Linked DNA regions of Homo sapiens: all the other regions are linked to region 4. Evidence: promoter capture Hi-C in 16 types of primary human blood cells and fetal thymus (Javierre and others, 2016). All regions are on one chromosome and are shown on one strand. The core of a region is centred on a gene start or on the middle of the fragment in contact, and the rest is flanking DNA. Distances in the headings are between cores, read along the strand shown.

Region 1 (2,837 bases), core at 43-2,542, 180 kb after region 4:
TTCCTAGAAATGGGATTGCTGGATCAGATGTCAAGTATCTGTTAAACCTAATAAGATGCTGTCAAACTGTTTTCCCCATTGAGTGTATCATTTTGCATCCTCATTGGCTCCATTTGAGAGTTCCAGTTGCTCTGGGTCCTTATTAGCAATTGGTATTGTCAGGTTTTTTTAAATTTATTTTTTCTCTTTTTTAAACCGTGCATCTCTTTTTGGTTTTTCCCTAATGCATTTTTCTAATGCTACTAATTGTGAGCATCCTTTCATGTGCTTATTTGCTATACATATATCTTATTTAGTGAAGTGTCTGTTTAGATCTTTTGCTCATTTAAAAAAATGGGGTGATTGTTTTTTATTTTTGATAGTTCTTTATGCATTTTGGATACAATTCCTTTTTCAGAAATGGGATTTGTAAATATTTTCTGTCAGCATGTGGCTTATCTTTTTCTTCTCTTGACATCTTTTGTAGAGCAAAAGTTTTTAATTTTGAATAAAGTCCAGTTTATCGATTTTTTTATTTTTGTATTTTGCTTTTCGAAGATCTAAAAACTCTTAGACTAAGCCATACCTTACTCTGTTGCCTGTTTCTTCTGCTTATAATATGTGTCTCATCCCACTCCCTCATCTCTGAGGGCTCAGTAACATCCTCTTTCTCAACTTGGTTGTCTTGATTAGCACCCCTTTTATATGCACACATAGTATTTTGTATTCCCCCTACCTCACTAGGGCTTGTTTCACTGTGTTATAGCTGCTTTTCCTTCCTGAGTCTCCTGCTAGGCTGTGCCAGGCCATCAGGGCAGGGACCATTTTCTATGTTCATTTTTGCATCAGGCCCAGTGATTCATGCATGATGGCGGCATTTGTTGAACATAAGAATGAATGGAATTGCTGGATATGCTCAGGTTCCCCATGCTGTTGTACGTGCTATTCCTAATTTCTTAAAATACTCTTTCTCCCTGGCTGGTTGGTTTCCTTCTGATCTTTTAAGCCGGTGAGCCATTCCCCATTTACTTCAGGCCGAATTACTTGCTGTCCTGCTGTGCTCTTAGGGCTTTTTGTTTGTTTGTTTTTTAACATTTTCCCTATTCAGCAAGTCTCTCGTCTTTCGTTGTATTACAGATAGTTGAGAAGGGGTTTTTCTTTACCAGTGAAGTGCGATAGAGGAATAAGAGCTACACTTCTTTTTCATCTCTTAGCTCTCAGAGCCTAATAACCCTGCCTAGTACTAAGGACTAAATAAATATCTGCTGAATATGATATGTCATTGTCTCCTTCTAATTGTTTTTTTAACATAAGAAGCCTAGGCATTAACACAATTTAGAGAAACATGGTAGGCAAACCATGCCAATATGCTTAGTCTCCATCCTCCTCATGAATAACTTTTTCTAGAGCAAAAGTTTGTTTATATCATCCATGGAAGATTTAATCTTGTAAAACAGATTATGAATATGAATCATAGAACAATTTAAAAACATAATAATTTTGTTAGAAGACATTAATATCACCTTGAATGCTAACAAGGTATCCTTATGACATTTGGCTATATTTCTTTCTTTTTTTAAGAAAAGTCTATATTTGTTAGCATTTATATCTTTTTTTATATGTAGATTTTATTAATCCCAATTATATATTATATCACACAGATGTTCACTTTAGAATGCTGTATACCTTAAAAATTTAATATTGAACCATAAGCATTTTTGGTGTTGAGTATTGTGGTATGTAGAGATGATGCTGTTTTACTCACTGCATTCATGATTCCGTAGAGTGATGTGCCTTCAGTTCCTGAAAATGACTTCATCTATGACAAAAGCCAGTTATACTTCAAATCAGATCATGGGACAGAACAGAATACACAAAAAGTGGTTCTGAAGTGTGGTCACTCCTTGACATTAAATCCACAAAAAAGATGAGACTGCTTTGCCATCATTCTGAATGTTGAAATATACAAGAGAACGCTCAGCGTGGGCTTTGGGGACTCTGTAATAAGATGGAATTCACCCTTAGAGAAGCTACAACCTGTAATTAGGCAATAGGAAGAGATACAGGAACTTGTTCTGAGCACAGAGCATGTGGTCAATGGAGGGGGACGAAGAGAGGGAAGACCATAAAATAACTATTGAAAGAGTTGTTCTCCTTTTTTTTTTTTTTTTTTTTTGAGACGGAGTCTCGCTCTGTCGCCCAGGCTGGAGTGCAGTGGCCTGATCTCGGCTCACTGCAAGCTCTGCCTCCCGGGTTCACGCCATTCTCCTGCCTCAGCCTCCCGAGTAGCTGGGACTACAGGCGCCCGCCACTACGCCCGGCTAATTTTTTGTATTTTTAGTAGAGACGGGGTTTCACCGTTTTAGCCAGGATGGTCTCGATCTCCTGACCTCGTGATCCGCCCGTCTCGGCCTCCCAAAATGCTGGGATTACAGGCGTGAGCCACTGCGCCCGGCCAGTTGTTCTCCTTTTTAATCTAAAACTTAAAAAAAATTTTAAACTTAGGCAAAGTTAGTAAAGAGGCTTGTCAGTAGAAAACCTGGCATGTGGAAACACATGACTGAGCCTGCCTATTTCTCTGGATTTTTTTTTTCTACTATCTGTGGGCACTCATCTCATCTTTTTAAAGCATGTCTATTGAAACTGCACACATGTGGTGCTTCAGAGCCAGGGTTCTGACTGTAGTTCTGTCCCTTTGGCCTAGTTTCAGTTTATTTTCTGAACATCTATTCCTTCATCTGTAAGATGTAAACAACAGTGACTCCTGGGGTTGTTTTGAGATTTAAATGAACTGGTATATGTAGAGTGCCAAGCACAGGGCCGGGCCACCCAGAGCTATGAGATAATATTGATTCTCA
Region 2 (2,873 bases), core at 189-2,688, 200 kb after region 4:
GCAATTTTTTTTTTTTAAAGCAGTGGAATAGAACAGAAAATGTCAGAGTACATTGTTCAGGGGAAACTTTAGTTTTAGTTTTCTAATACTAATATATGTGTGTACATTTATGCTTTACTTCTCTAAGCATTGCAAATTCTGTGTTCTGTTTTTCCTAGTTATCTGTCCCAATTACCTTAGTTTTTATGATTTCAGCCTTTTCAGAAATGTCTGTCCTCACTTCTTCTCATCACTTTTTTTTTTTTTTTTTTTTTGAGACAAGGTCTCACTCTGTTGCCCAGGCTGGAGTATGGTGGTGTAATAATGGCTCACTGCAACCTCCATTTCCTGGGCTCAAGCCATCCTCCCCACTCAGTCTCCCAAGTAGCTGGGATTGCAGGTGTGCACTACCACACCTGGCTAATTTTTAAATTTTTTTTTGTAGTGATGTGGTCTCACTCTGTTGCCCAGGCTTCTCCACTCACTCTATTCAAAATTCGATTATTTCATTTAGACACCATTTAGAATCCTAGCTCTAGTGTTTTTTGTTGACCTGAAGTACGCTCATATTTTTTCCCAGCTATTTGGTGGTGGCTCTGATTTGATCTTCTAAATAAGACAAGAGACTTATAGATTCTAGGATTGCTGCTTACTTTTCTTGGTGTTTTAGGTCTTTCATGTCTCAGTGTATATCAGTGAGTCCCAGAGTCGAAACACATGGGTTTAATTCCTGGCTTCACAGCTTTCTAGCTAAGTGTTCTTGGACAAGTTACCTACCTTCTCTGTACCTCAGCTTCCTTATATTAAAAATACAATGATAGTACCTACCAAATAAGAATGTTCTAAGGATTAAATGAAATAATTGATATTTTTATGGTTAAACAGGTAAAGCAATATTTTAAAAATGGCATAGATTGGCTGGGCACGGTGGCTCACGCCTATAATCCTAGCACTTTGGGAGGCCGAGGCGGGCAGATCACAAGGTCAGGAGATCAAGACCATCCTGGCTAACACAGTGAAACCCCGTCTTTACTAAAAATACAAAAAATTAGCCGAGCGTGGTGGCACGTGCCTGTAGTCTCAGCTACTCGGGAGGCTGAGGCAGGAGATTCCCTTGAACCTGGGAGGAGGAGGTTGCAGTGAGCCGAGATCGCGCCTCTGCACTCCAGCCTGGGTGACAGAGTGGGACTCCATCTTGGGGAAAAAAAAAAAGGGCATAGATTTAGATTTAGGGCGTTTAAAAGTTGGAAGTATTGACTCAATTTTTTCCAGTATGCCTATATTCTTATACTCTTGGTTCTAAGTCTTTTCCTCTCAGCCTTATTTTTGAAATGGAAATACTTCATTGTATTTTGCTTTTTCACTTACTTTCCTTAGTGTTTCTGAACTCTCCAGGAAAGTTATAGAATTGGTAGAAATGTAAAAATTTTTACTCACCTGTGCTCTGACATCCACAATGTTCCAATGTGTATGCTTTCTAACAGAGAAGAGGCCTTTTGTTTCTCCCAGAAACCACTACCAAGATCAAGAGACAGAATGTTCCCACCGTTCTCCAGACTTACCTTGTGGTTTGCCCCAGTGATTACCAGCCCTGTCCTCTACCACTTGGAAAAGATAACTACTATTCTGACTTCTCTCATGATGGATGAGCTTTGCCTGTTCTTTGCCTATGTACTCCTTTGTGTGTGGCTTCTTTTGCTTCTCTTTGTGGAGAGATTTTTTAATAATAGATTTGTTTCCTTGAATAGATAGAGAACTATTGAGATTATTTACTTCTTCTTAAATTAGTTTTGGTCTGTCATGTTTTTCATAAGGGATTTGTTCCTTTCTATTAAAATGATAGTTTTTTGACTTACAGATGTGTTTATACCCTCGAGTTATAATTCAACGCCTGTAAGATCTTTACATTCTCTTTTCATTTGATTTTGATAATTTGATCTCTGTTTCTCATTTATTTATTTTACCAGTCTTGTTGGAGTTTATTAATTTTGTTAGTATTTTTAAAGAACCAACTTTGTTAAATTTACTTATTTTTATGGCTGCTATCTATTTAACTGGATTCTTCCCTTTTTCTTATTTTTTTTCCTTCCTTCTGTTTACAGAGGTGGGTGAGGATTAATTTGCTGTTTTTTGAGCTGGATAATTAGATAATTATTTTCCAGTTTTTTATCTTTCTTAAAATATGTATTTAGGTCTATTGATTTCTCTCTAGGCATGGCTCTAGTTAGATCCCAAAGATTTTAATACCATAGTTTTTAGATTTAACTCAAAATATTTTTAAAATTCCCACTGTGATTTTTGACTCTTTTGTTATTTAGAAATATATTGCTTAAGTTATAATTATTTGGGGATTTTCTAATTATCTTATTGTTATAATTCCTATTTTAACTGCAGTAGTGGTAACAGAGAACATACAAATATTCTGTGTATGAATTCACAGTACTAAGGAACATTCTGTTATTTGTTGAGACTTTCTTTATGGCTCAGTATATGATTCCTTTTGGAAAATATTTAGTGTGGACTTTGAAGAAATGTATTCTGTAGTTACTGGGTACAGCATTTTAAATATATCAGTTATATCTTTTTTCATTATGATCTTGATATTTTCTATATCTTTACTGACTTTTTCTGTTCATTTATTAGCTACTAATAGAAGTGTGTTAGAAAACTTCCATTATTATATATGCGTGTGTGTTTATGTAATATGTGTATTTTCCTTTTGTTACTGTCAGATTTACTTTATATATTTTCAGATGATGTTAATCAGAGCATAGATTTAGAGTAATTGTATCTTCTTAATTAATGAAATATTCCATTTATCTTTAGTAATGTTTCTTAAAATTTAAATTGTCTTATTGCAGCTACATCAGATTTCTTTTAGTTAGTGTTTGTAG
Region 3 (2,700 bases), core at 28-2,527, 230 kb after region 4:
AGCATTTGTACAAATCATTTTGCAGTCATCTTTAGTTAGCTAATATCTGCCTTATGAGTGAGAACTCACACTCATGTCTTAGAACAGGTAGGGATGGGTCCTTCCTAAAATGTTTGACAATCAAAGTAAGTCTTCATTGTCTCCTTTGGTTGGGTGGAGAGTTTACACCTTGGAATCGGTAACAGTCAAATAAAACAGTAACTTTCTCATGTATAAAATGAATTTATTAAATTTCCAAAAGTCAGAAATGAAGAAATTCTTCTGGGTTGATAATGCACTGCTTTGCTACTATAGTGGCGTGGGTGGTGGTCATCTTGTTTCTCTTTTGTTTTTTTCTAATGTTTTTAGGATTTAATGTGGGATCACATGGCATAGGAAACAGCAGCAATGGCTAGTGATAGGCTCTTTACCCACTGATAATAGCTTCTTTGGAGTTGATAAGCTTTTACTTTTTCTTTGGTACTAAGTTTATTTTAAGACTGACTGTCTCTCCTATTTTTAATTTTTTGATTACATCTCCAGTAGAGTGAAGACTTTACTTTGTGTTTGGTTTGTGTTTCTCTAGCTGAGATCAGGAGGTGCTCAAGTATTAGAAGGTTGCATTGCTGAAATACACAACATCACCAGCTTAGACATCTCTGACAATGGTAAGTCAGATATTGAAAAGAAATGAAACTGAAATATTTTTTGAAGCAAGTTAATAAGGGGAAAATAATCTTCTACCCAAATCCAAACAATAGCTTAATAAAAAAATTGTTTTTTATTTTTTGACTAATAGGGCTTTTAAATTTAACAATGGGGTATATTTGTAGAATAGATCTGTGCCAGAGTCTTACTAAGTTGACTCTGTGGCCAACTATGCAAAGTCTATGCAGTAAAACAACTCAGTTATAAAAATATCACCAGTACATTGAAAAGGGTCTGAGACCAACTTTTTGCATTCTTGCTGATAATAAAATTGTACTCTTGTTTATTTATTCAAAAGCTTATTTCATTAGCTTCATTTCTGCTGATTGTAGTATCATGTTAGTATGAACCTGTGAAATTTGCATAGACAACTTTAACTCCACTTACCTCACAGTGAACAGTTTGTTGGAATCTTCTCTCACAGAGTGGTGGGGAGAGATGAAACTTTCTGCCATTATTCATTCCCATTTCCTGCTGACTTGGTTTAGCCACTGATTGTATAAGAGATTTAGATAAGTCTTTGTAGAGAATGAGTTTATCCCTGTGAAATAATAGGACATGAAAAGAGAGCAAAGAGTGCCTTTGAAAATAAAAGATTAGAATCCCAGGCCCCTCAGGAAGGTAAAGGAAGTCATCCAACTATATGTCACCTTTGCTTAATTGTGTTCCAGCTGAAAATTAATTTATACACATGTGTTTTGATGTTCTACTTACTCTGATTCTTTCCAGGTTTAGAATCTGACCTATCTACCTTAATAGTGTGGCTCAGTAAAAACAGATCAATACAACACCTGGCGTTAGGCAAAAATTTTAATAATATGAAATCCAAGTAAGAGTTTTGAATTTTTTTATATGACAATGATGAAAATAACCAGCCTCCTGAAAGCTTTTGATTTGATTCCACTGTCCACATCTCTAAAATCTCTTTAGAAATCTGACACCTGTATTGGACAACTTAGTACAGATGATTCAAGATGAAGAATCAGTGAGTATTATGTTAAACTTTTTACTAAAATCTTCTGTTTGTTGCCATTCTTACTGATTATTTCTACTGGATTAATGCTGAAATACTTTCAGATAGTTTTATCAACGTGTACATTTTCCATTACTTTTTAAAAATGGAATAAATACACTTTAGTAGAGTTGTAGAATGTATTTAAAAACTTTTTTTACTTTATTCAACTCACTGTCAATTAAAGGAAGATTGTCACTAATAGATAAAAAGAAGTATAAATTGACTCCTGAGCCTATCTTTTAATTAGCCTTACTACTCCCTAACTTTAGCTAATAAACTAATCTTCAGGCATGAATTTTTACATTCTAGTTGACTTTATGACCTTATATAATGCTGAGAAATATCATATTGCTAATTTGAATTTCATCTAATAATTATGTGGAATTATAGGGGACCAAGGAAGTTTTCTTCCATCTTTAATTGCTTCTTGAAGTCTAGTAGCACTCTGTATTTTTAATCCCCTTTCGTTGCTCCTGACCAAAATTTAGTTCAGGGTAAAGAAGTTTAATTTCAAATAGTATCTTATTTTGCTGTCCTTGAAAATGGATTAGGAGAAAGAAAAGTTATTTTATGGACAAAATAAGAAGCAGTCTACCATGAATCCATTTGATTTAGAGCTGGTGTGTTACACCTTATATTTTACTGATGCTCTCTAAGATTTTGTCCGTTTCCTCTCAAAGTCCTATTTGGTCACCAGACTCAGCTTTTCCAGTTCCTAAAACTCAGATGAATTTGTATTCCTACTATGAAGAGTCACATTACTCATGTTTTGTAATAGCTACTTTTGTAGGTCATGAGGATGATTTTTATATTAATCATGTGGAGTATGTCACATTTGGAAAAAGTATCATTTTCCCTCCTGAATTCATACCAGGGAAGAGCAAATTCTATCACAGCTTTAAGCTGACTTTTCTGTGAAAGCTAAGAGGCCAGGAAGGATAGACACTGGACACTTCCTCACTTGCCGTTGCCCCCACTTCTTTGACAGGGCTCTGAGC
Region 4 (2,735 bases), core at 14-2,513:
TATTGTAGAGGCTTAGGGATCACAGTAATCTGAAAATCCCTGGAAAATATTCACAAAGAAGGTAGACCATTGGGATGGGTTTGAAAACATAGATAAGAATCAGATAACCTTAAGAGGAAGGAGGAAGCAAACAGTGAGTCTGGTTGTAATAGAGAAGGGAGTGGGAGAGGTTAAGGAGGGTGGGAAGGGGCCAGGTTGGCAAATCCTTAGTGGTAAGGCCTGGCTGTGGGGCTGAAGATGATTCTAAGGGGTCCAAGGTCAACAGCAGTGTTTAAAATTAGATTGCCAAGTGCATGGATTCCCTTTCCTTTCCTCCTTTTCTGTCCTTTAAAAGCAGAACCTGATTAGACAGTCTGGGACATTCCCAGCCCTAGGCTAAAAAGCAGCGATTGAGGCACAAAGTATTCTTGGCCCTGAAGTTGAACCTCTGGGGATGGAGCTCAGGGAAGTCATAGGGAGTTTGGGCCCAGGTAGGATCAGACCTATCCGCAGGCTTACATAGGCTCCAGTGATTAAAGCTCAGCTTCCTGAATATGCCCCGAGGATAAAAGAGACTTTTCCGAGTGAAAGGCATTTTCCAAGGCGCTCTCAACGGGAATGTCTGAGATAGCGAACTGCGGCTGCAGAGCACCAGCTGAACGCACACACACAAGTGTCTTCTCACGGTATGATTAGTGTTCACAGGTTTCGTCTAGCTCATCAGAAATGAAGAATAGCGATGATGAAGTGACATGTCACCGGGAGGGTTGAAAAAGAAAAAGTGCGTAAGAGGGTCCCAAAAAGAACCAGCTTCCGTGTAGACGGGTCTGCAGAATCTGCCGTCTCCCGTCTTCTGGGTCCCCTGGCCCGCCCGGAGTGGGGACAAGGAAATGGAAAGCCCGGCTCACCCGGCTCTCCTCCCTCGCAGCCAGCAGATGGCTCCCGGGCTCTCTCGCGAGCCCGCTCGCCCCCTCTCCAGACGCAGGGCTTTTGCGGTTTGGGAGGGAGGCTGCGAGGAGGGGCGCGGTGCCCGCCGCCGCCACCGCAGCACCGCACAGCGTCTCTCCTGGGGGTGCGACCTACGCCGGGGACCCAGCGCTCGGGCACCGGAGGCCGGCCTCGCACCGGTGCGGAGGCCGGCTCTCGCGAGGTGAGGAGGAAACGCAGGAGGAAGAGGAGAAGGAGAAGGAGGAGAAGGAGGAGGGCCGGAGCTGCCCCCGCCCAGCCGGAGCCCGGCAGGAGCGCGAGGAAAACCTACTCCCCCCGCCCCGCGCCGCTCTCCCCGCCCTCTCCCACGCCTTCCGCTTTCACCTAGGGCTGTAGGTGCGGCGCGGAGGCTGGGCGGGAGCTACGCCGGCCCAAGCCCCGCCGGGGACCAGCGAGCCGGGAGGAGGAGCAGGCGCCACAGCCGCCCCGCGCCCCGCGCCCGCTTGTAATCCGGTCCGCTCCTTATTCAGCCGCCGGGAACTGCGAGGAGGCGTCATGTAGCAGCAGCAGCAAATCCGCCTCGCATTTGCAACTCTTTTTTTTTTTTTTGGTGGGGCGGGGGGCGCGCGGCAAAATTCTGTCTCCGCCCCCCCTTTTCTTGCCCACTTCCATTTGCAAGCTGCATCTGCCTCTCTAAAAAAATTGAGGAGTTCGGGGAAGGGCAGGGGGCCATAAATCAGAGTTGGACCTGCAATAACCCCCACACCTACAGGGCAACCATGACCGAGGAGAGCTCTGACGTTCCCAGGGAGTTGATAGGTAAGATTCACGCGGTTGTTGGTTTTCCACCTTCCTCTGCGTACTCCTCACCTCTCTCTCCCTTCCCACCTCTGCTTTCCCGCAGGTCTCGAGAAGTCTTGGCGCCCCTTAGGGCAGAGTGGTGTTGGGCAGGGTCACTGGGGGTGCCGGGAAGTTTGTTCCCATCCGACCGCCTGTAGAGCCAAGTGCAGAGAGGGAAGGCTTCGGGGAGGAATCGGGAGTCCTCGGGAGGTGGGTGGGAGGAGGGTCTCGACTGTGAGCCCTGGGCACCTCCTCTTGCCCGGAAGCGGGGATCCAGGTTGGCGAAAGAAGGGGGCGGGCCATCTTAGACTTGGGAGTTCTGCAAGCGAGGGGAGCCCTTTACAGCTCCCAGCCCACTGCCCCAAACTCGGGAAAGTCCGGGAAAGCCTATTGGAAGGACAGGTGGCGAGCGCACAGTAGGTCGTCTCCGGCACGTGTCAGGCGCTTTCCTGAAAATGCCCCGCGGGAGGTGATCTTCTGACACGCAGACTTGGGGGAGTGGGCGCTAGTCTGGTAAAATGACTGGGCTTGGCAAGGTGTGGCTTGGTGTAGCCAGCTGGGAGCGAAAGGGTTACAGGGCTGACGCAGACTCAGGCCAGGAAATAGAGGGTTAATGATAAAAGCCTTATTTTAATAATGATTAACCTACCGATTCTCCCTATAGGGGATCTCTTAGGGAACCCGTGTGTGTTACGCTGTGCAAGGTGACCCATTGTTTGAGTACCTTGAGGTTTTTTTTTTTTTGGTGGTGGTGGGGGCGGGGCTGGTTAAGTCTTGGGGTTTAACTTAATTATCTGGAGGGTTAAAATGGCAGAGCTGAAATAGGATGGGAGAGTGTTCTGAAAACCTAGCGTTTAAGCATGTATATGTGTGTAGCATGTTATACTGTAACAAGGTATGTGCGTCTGTGTACAGATGTGTTTTGAGCCCTAGTGACCTATATTCCCTCCTGTACCATTCTTGGCACACTACACAGCCTACAGCTCACA
Region 5 (2,700 bases), core at 52-2,551, 170 kb after region 4:
TCATCCATAAGAAGCAACTTCTCATTTGTTAAAAGTTTTTTCGTGGATTACAACAATTCATTCACATTTTCAGGCTCCACTTTTAATTCTAATTCTATTGCTGTTTTCACCATATCTGCAGTTACTTCCTCCACTAAACTCTTATACCCTTCAAGGTCATCCATGAGGTTTGGAATCAACTTTTTTGGAACTCCTGTTGATGTTGATATTTTGACCTCTTCCCGTGAGTCATGAATGTTCTCAATGGCATCTATGATGGTGATTTTTTTCTGAAGGTTTTCAATTTACTTTGCCCAGATGCATCAGAGGAATCACTATCTATGGCTGCTTATATTGCCTTACAAAATATATTTCTTTTTTTTTTTTTTTTGAGTTGTTGTCTTGCTCAGTTACCCAGGCTGGAGTGCAGTGGCGTGATCTCGGCTCACTGCAAGCTCCGCCTCCCAGGTTCATGCCATTCTCCTGTCTCAGCCTTCCGAGTAACTGGGACTACAGGTGCCCGCCACCAGGTCCGGCTAATTTTTTTTTTGTATTTTTAGTAGAGATGGGGTTTCACCATGTTAGCCGGGATGGTCTCGATCTCCTGACCTCGTGATCCACACGCCTCGGCTGGGATTACAGACACAAAATATATTTCTTAATAAGACTTGAAAGTCAAACCTATTCCTGGATCCATGGGCTGCAGAATGGATATTGAATTAGTAGGCATGAAAACAACATGGATTTTTTTGTACTTCTCCATCAGAACTCTTGTGTGGCCAGGTGCATTGTTAATGAGCAGTAACATTTTGACAGGAATCTCTTTTTCTGAGCAGTAGGTCTCAACAGTGGGCTTAAAATATTCAGTAAACCATTCTGTAAATAGATCTGCTATCACCCAGGCTTTCTTGTTCTATTGTGGAGTGCAAGCAGGGAGATTTAGCATCATTCTTAAGGGCCTTGGGTTTTTGGAATGGAACATCAGCACTGATTGGCCTCAACTTAGAGTCACCAGCTGCATTAGCCACTAACAAGAGAGGCAGCCTGTCCTTTGAAGCTTTGAAGCCTGCCATTGACTTCTCCCTAGCTAAGAAAGTGCTAGATGACATCTTCTTCCAGTAGGAGGCTCTTTCATCTACATTGAAAATCAGTTGTTTAGTGTAGCCATCTTCATCAATGATCTTAACTATATCTTCTGGATAACTTGCTTCAGCTTCTTCATCAGCACTTGCTCCTTCATCTTGTACTTTTACGTTATGGAGACAACTTTCCTTAAACCTCATGAACCAACGTTTGGTAGCTTCCAACTTCAGCTTCCTCCCCTCTCTCAGCCTTGATAGAATTGAAGAGAGTTAAAGCCTTGTTCTGGATTAGGCTTTGGCATAGGGAATGTTTCATTCCAGACCACTAAAACTTTCTGCATCTCAGGGATAAAGTTGTTTCACTTTCTCATCATTCACATGTTCATGGAAGTAGCGCTTTTAACTTCCTTCAATAACTTTTCCTTTGCATTTGCAATTTTGCTAATTTTTTTGTTGCAAAAGGCCTAATTTTTAGCCTGTCTTGGCTTTCCATGTGCCTTTCTCACTAAGCTTGTTTCTAGCTTTTGATTTAAAATGAGAGATGTGCGACTATTCCTTTTACTTGAACACTTAGAGGCCATTGCAGGGTTATTAATTGGCCTAATTTCAATATTGTTGTGTCTCAAGTAATGGGCTTGGTGAAAGGGAGAGACAGAGAGGAATGGTTGTCAGTGGAGCAGTGAGATCACACACACTTTTAAGTAGCTAAGTTTGCTGTCTTATATGGGTGTGATTCATGGTCCCCCAAAATAGTTACAATAGTAACATCAAAGATCACTGATCACGTCACCAAAACAGATATTATAATAATGAGGAAGTTTGAGATATTGTGAGAATTACCAGAATGTGGCACAGAGACAGGAAGTGAGCACATGCTGTTGGAAAAATGGCACTGATAGATTTGCTTAATGCAAGGTTGCCACAAAGCTTCAATTGGCAAAAAATGCAATACCTGTGAGTATAATACAATAAAATGAGGTATGTCGGAACCTGATTATGTCTTAGTCATAAAACTTACAAAGAAGTAGGAGGAATATTTTCCATGCCAACAGAATGTATTTAAATGATTTGATATGTATTTGAGGTTTTCTCTAGGAGTAGAACAACCCAACCAGGCAACCTCCCAGGCCCTAGCATATTTTATCTGGAATACATCCATTCAATCAGAAAATGTAAATAACTGGGAACATTTTCTTCCAGTCTCTGCAAGGTGATGGAAATTCATAAGAATGACTGAGAGCATTGTATGTAGCAGAGTGCCTTGAAATCATTAAAGATGAAACTATATTCAATACAAGTTAATATATTTATTTCACCACCTCTCACCCACGTCCTGTCATGGTACTGGGTGACTGACACCCTGACACCCTTCCTCACAGCTCATGACCTCTTCACCTCTACCCTACTTCCACTTGCTTTTGTGGCCACATGACCTTGTCATCTCCTGGAACAGCTTATTCCATGGTGAAAAAACAGCCCTCCCCCTCTGACTACAGCCTTTCACTTCCTCTCCCCTGGAAGTACCAGTATTTGGACTTTTTCAAGGCCTCCAGACTGGGGGTGGCTTGGCTTTCTCTTCTTCTGCCACCCCCATCCTGCCTTCCTGTCCATTCTTAACTGCTCAGCCCACAACATCCAT

What was found. The method cuts DNA at HindIII sites, captures the fragments that hold promoters and counts their contacts. A CHiCAGO score of 5 or more calls a contact.
Region 1: a fragment that was not itself captured here is called in contact with the fragment with the promoter of CARMIL1 in region 4 in 10 of 17 cell types (naive CD4 T cells, non-activated CD4 T cells, naive CD8 T cells and 7 more); the score reaches 8.4 in naive CD4 T cells.
Region 2: a contact is called between a fragment that was not itself captured here and the fragment with the promoter of CARMIL1 in region 4, in 15 of 17 cell types (naive CD4 T cells, megakaryocytes, total CD8 T cells and 12 more). The highest score is 15.8, in naive CD4 T cells.
Region 3: a fragment that was not itself captured here is called in contact with the fragment with the promoter of CARMIL1 in region 4 in 16 of 17 cell types (M2 macrophages, megakaryocytes, M0 macrophages and 13 more); the score reaches 12.3 in M2 macrophages.
Region 5: a contact is called between a fragment that was not itself captured here and the fragment with the promoter of CARMIL1 in region 4, in 7 of 17 cell types (M2 macrophages, total CD8 T cells, M0 macrophages and 4 more). The highest score is 8.6, in M2 macrophages.

The regions. Positions count from the first base shown.
Region 1 is chr6:25,461,686-25,464,522 of GRCh38, forward strand. All of the region lies in intron 8 of CARMIL1 (capping protein regulator and myosin 1 linker 1), which reads left to right. Among named protein-coding and RNA genes, the nearest start is that of CARMIL1, 180 kb to the left of the region's middle. RefSeq lists an enhancer at 759-1,295 and a silencer at 1,763-1,963. The HindIII fragment of the contact is 8,941 bases long and covers 1-2,837 here.
Region 2 is chr6:25,477,620-25,480,492 of GRCh38, forward strand. All of the region lies in intron 11 of CARMIL1 (capping protein regulator and myosin 1 linker 1), which reads left to right. Among named protein-coding and RNA genes, the nearest start is that of SCGN, 170 kb to the right of the region's middle. The HindIII fragment of the contact is 4,769 bases long and covers 1-2,873 here.
Region 3 is chr6:25,509,091-25,511,790 of GRCh38, forward strand. It overlaps CARMIL1 (capping protein regulator and myosin 1 linker 1), which reads left to right. Exons shown (of 37, transcript NM_017640.6): 18 at 566-647; 19 at 1,417-1,516; 20 at 1,618-1,672. Among named protein-coding and RNA genes, the nearest start is that of SCGN, 140 kb to the right of the region's middle. The HindIII fragment of the contact is 588 bases long and covers 984-1,571 here.
Region 4 is chr6:25,278,111-25,280,845 of GRCh38, forward strand. It overlaps CARMIL1 (capping protein regulator and myosin 1 linker 1), which reads left to right and starts at 1,264. Exons shown (of 37, transcript NM_017640.6): 1 at 1,264-1,725. The coding sequence starts at 1,686. RefSeq lists a silencer at 992-1,461. The HindIII fragment of the contact is 9,381 bases long and covers 1-2,735 here.
Region 5 is chr6:25,445,183-25,447,882 of GRCh38, forward strand. The region is part of intron 5 of CARMIL1 (capping protein regulator and myosin 1 linker 1); the gene reads left to right. It also overlaps a transcript of LOC124901281 not described here. Among named protein-coding and RNA genes, the nearest start is that of CARMIL1, 170 kb to the left of the region's middle. The HindIII fragment of the contact is 535 bases long and covers 1,035-1,569 here.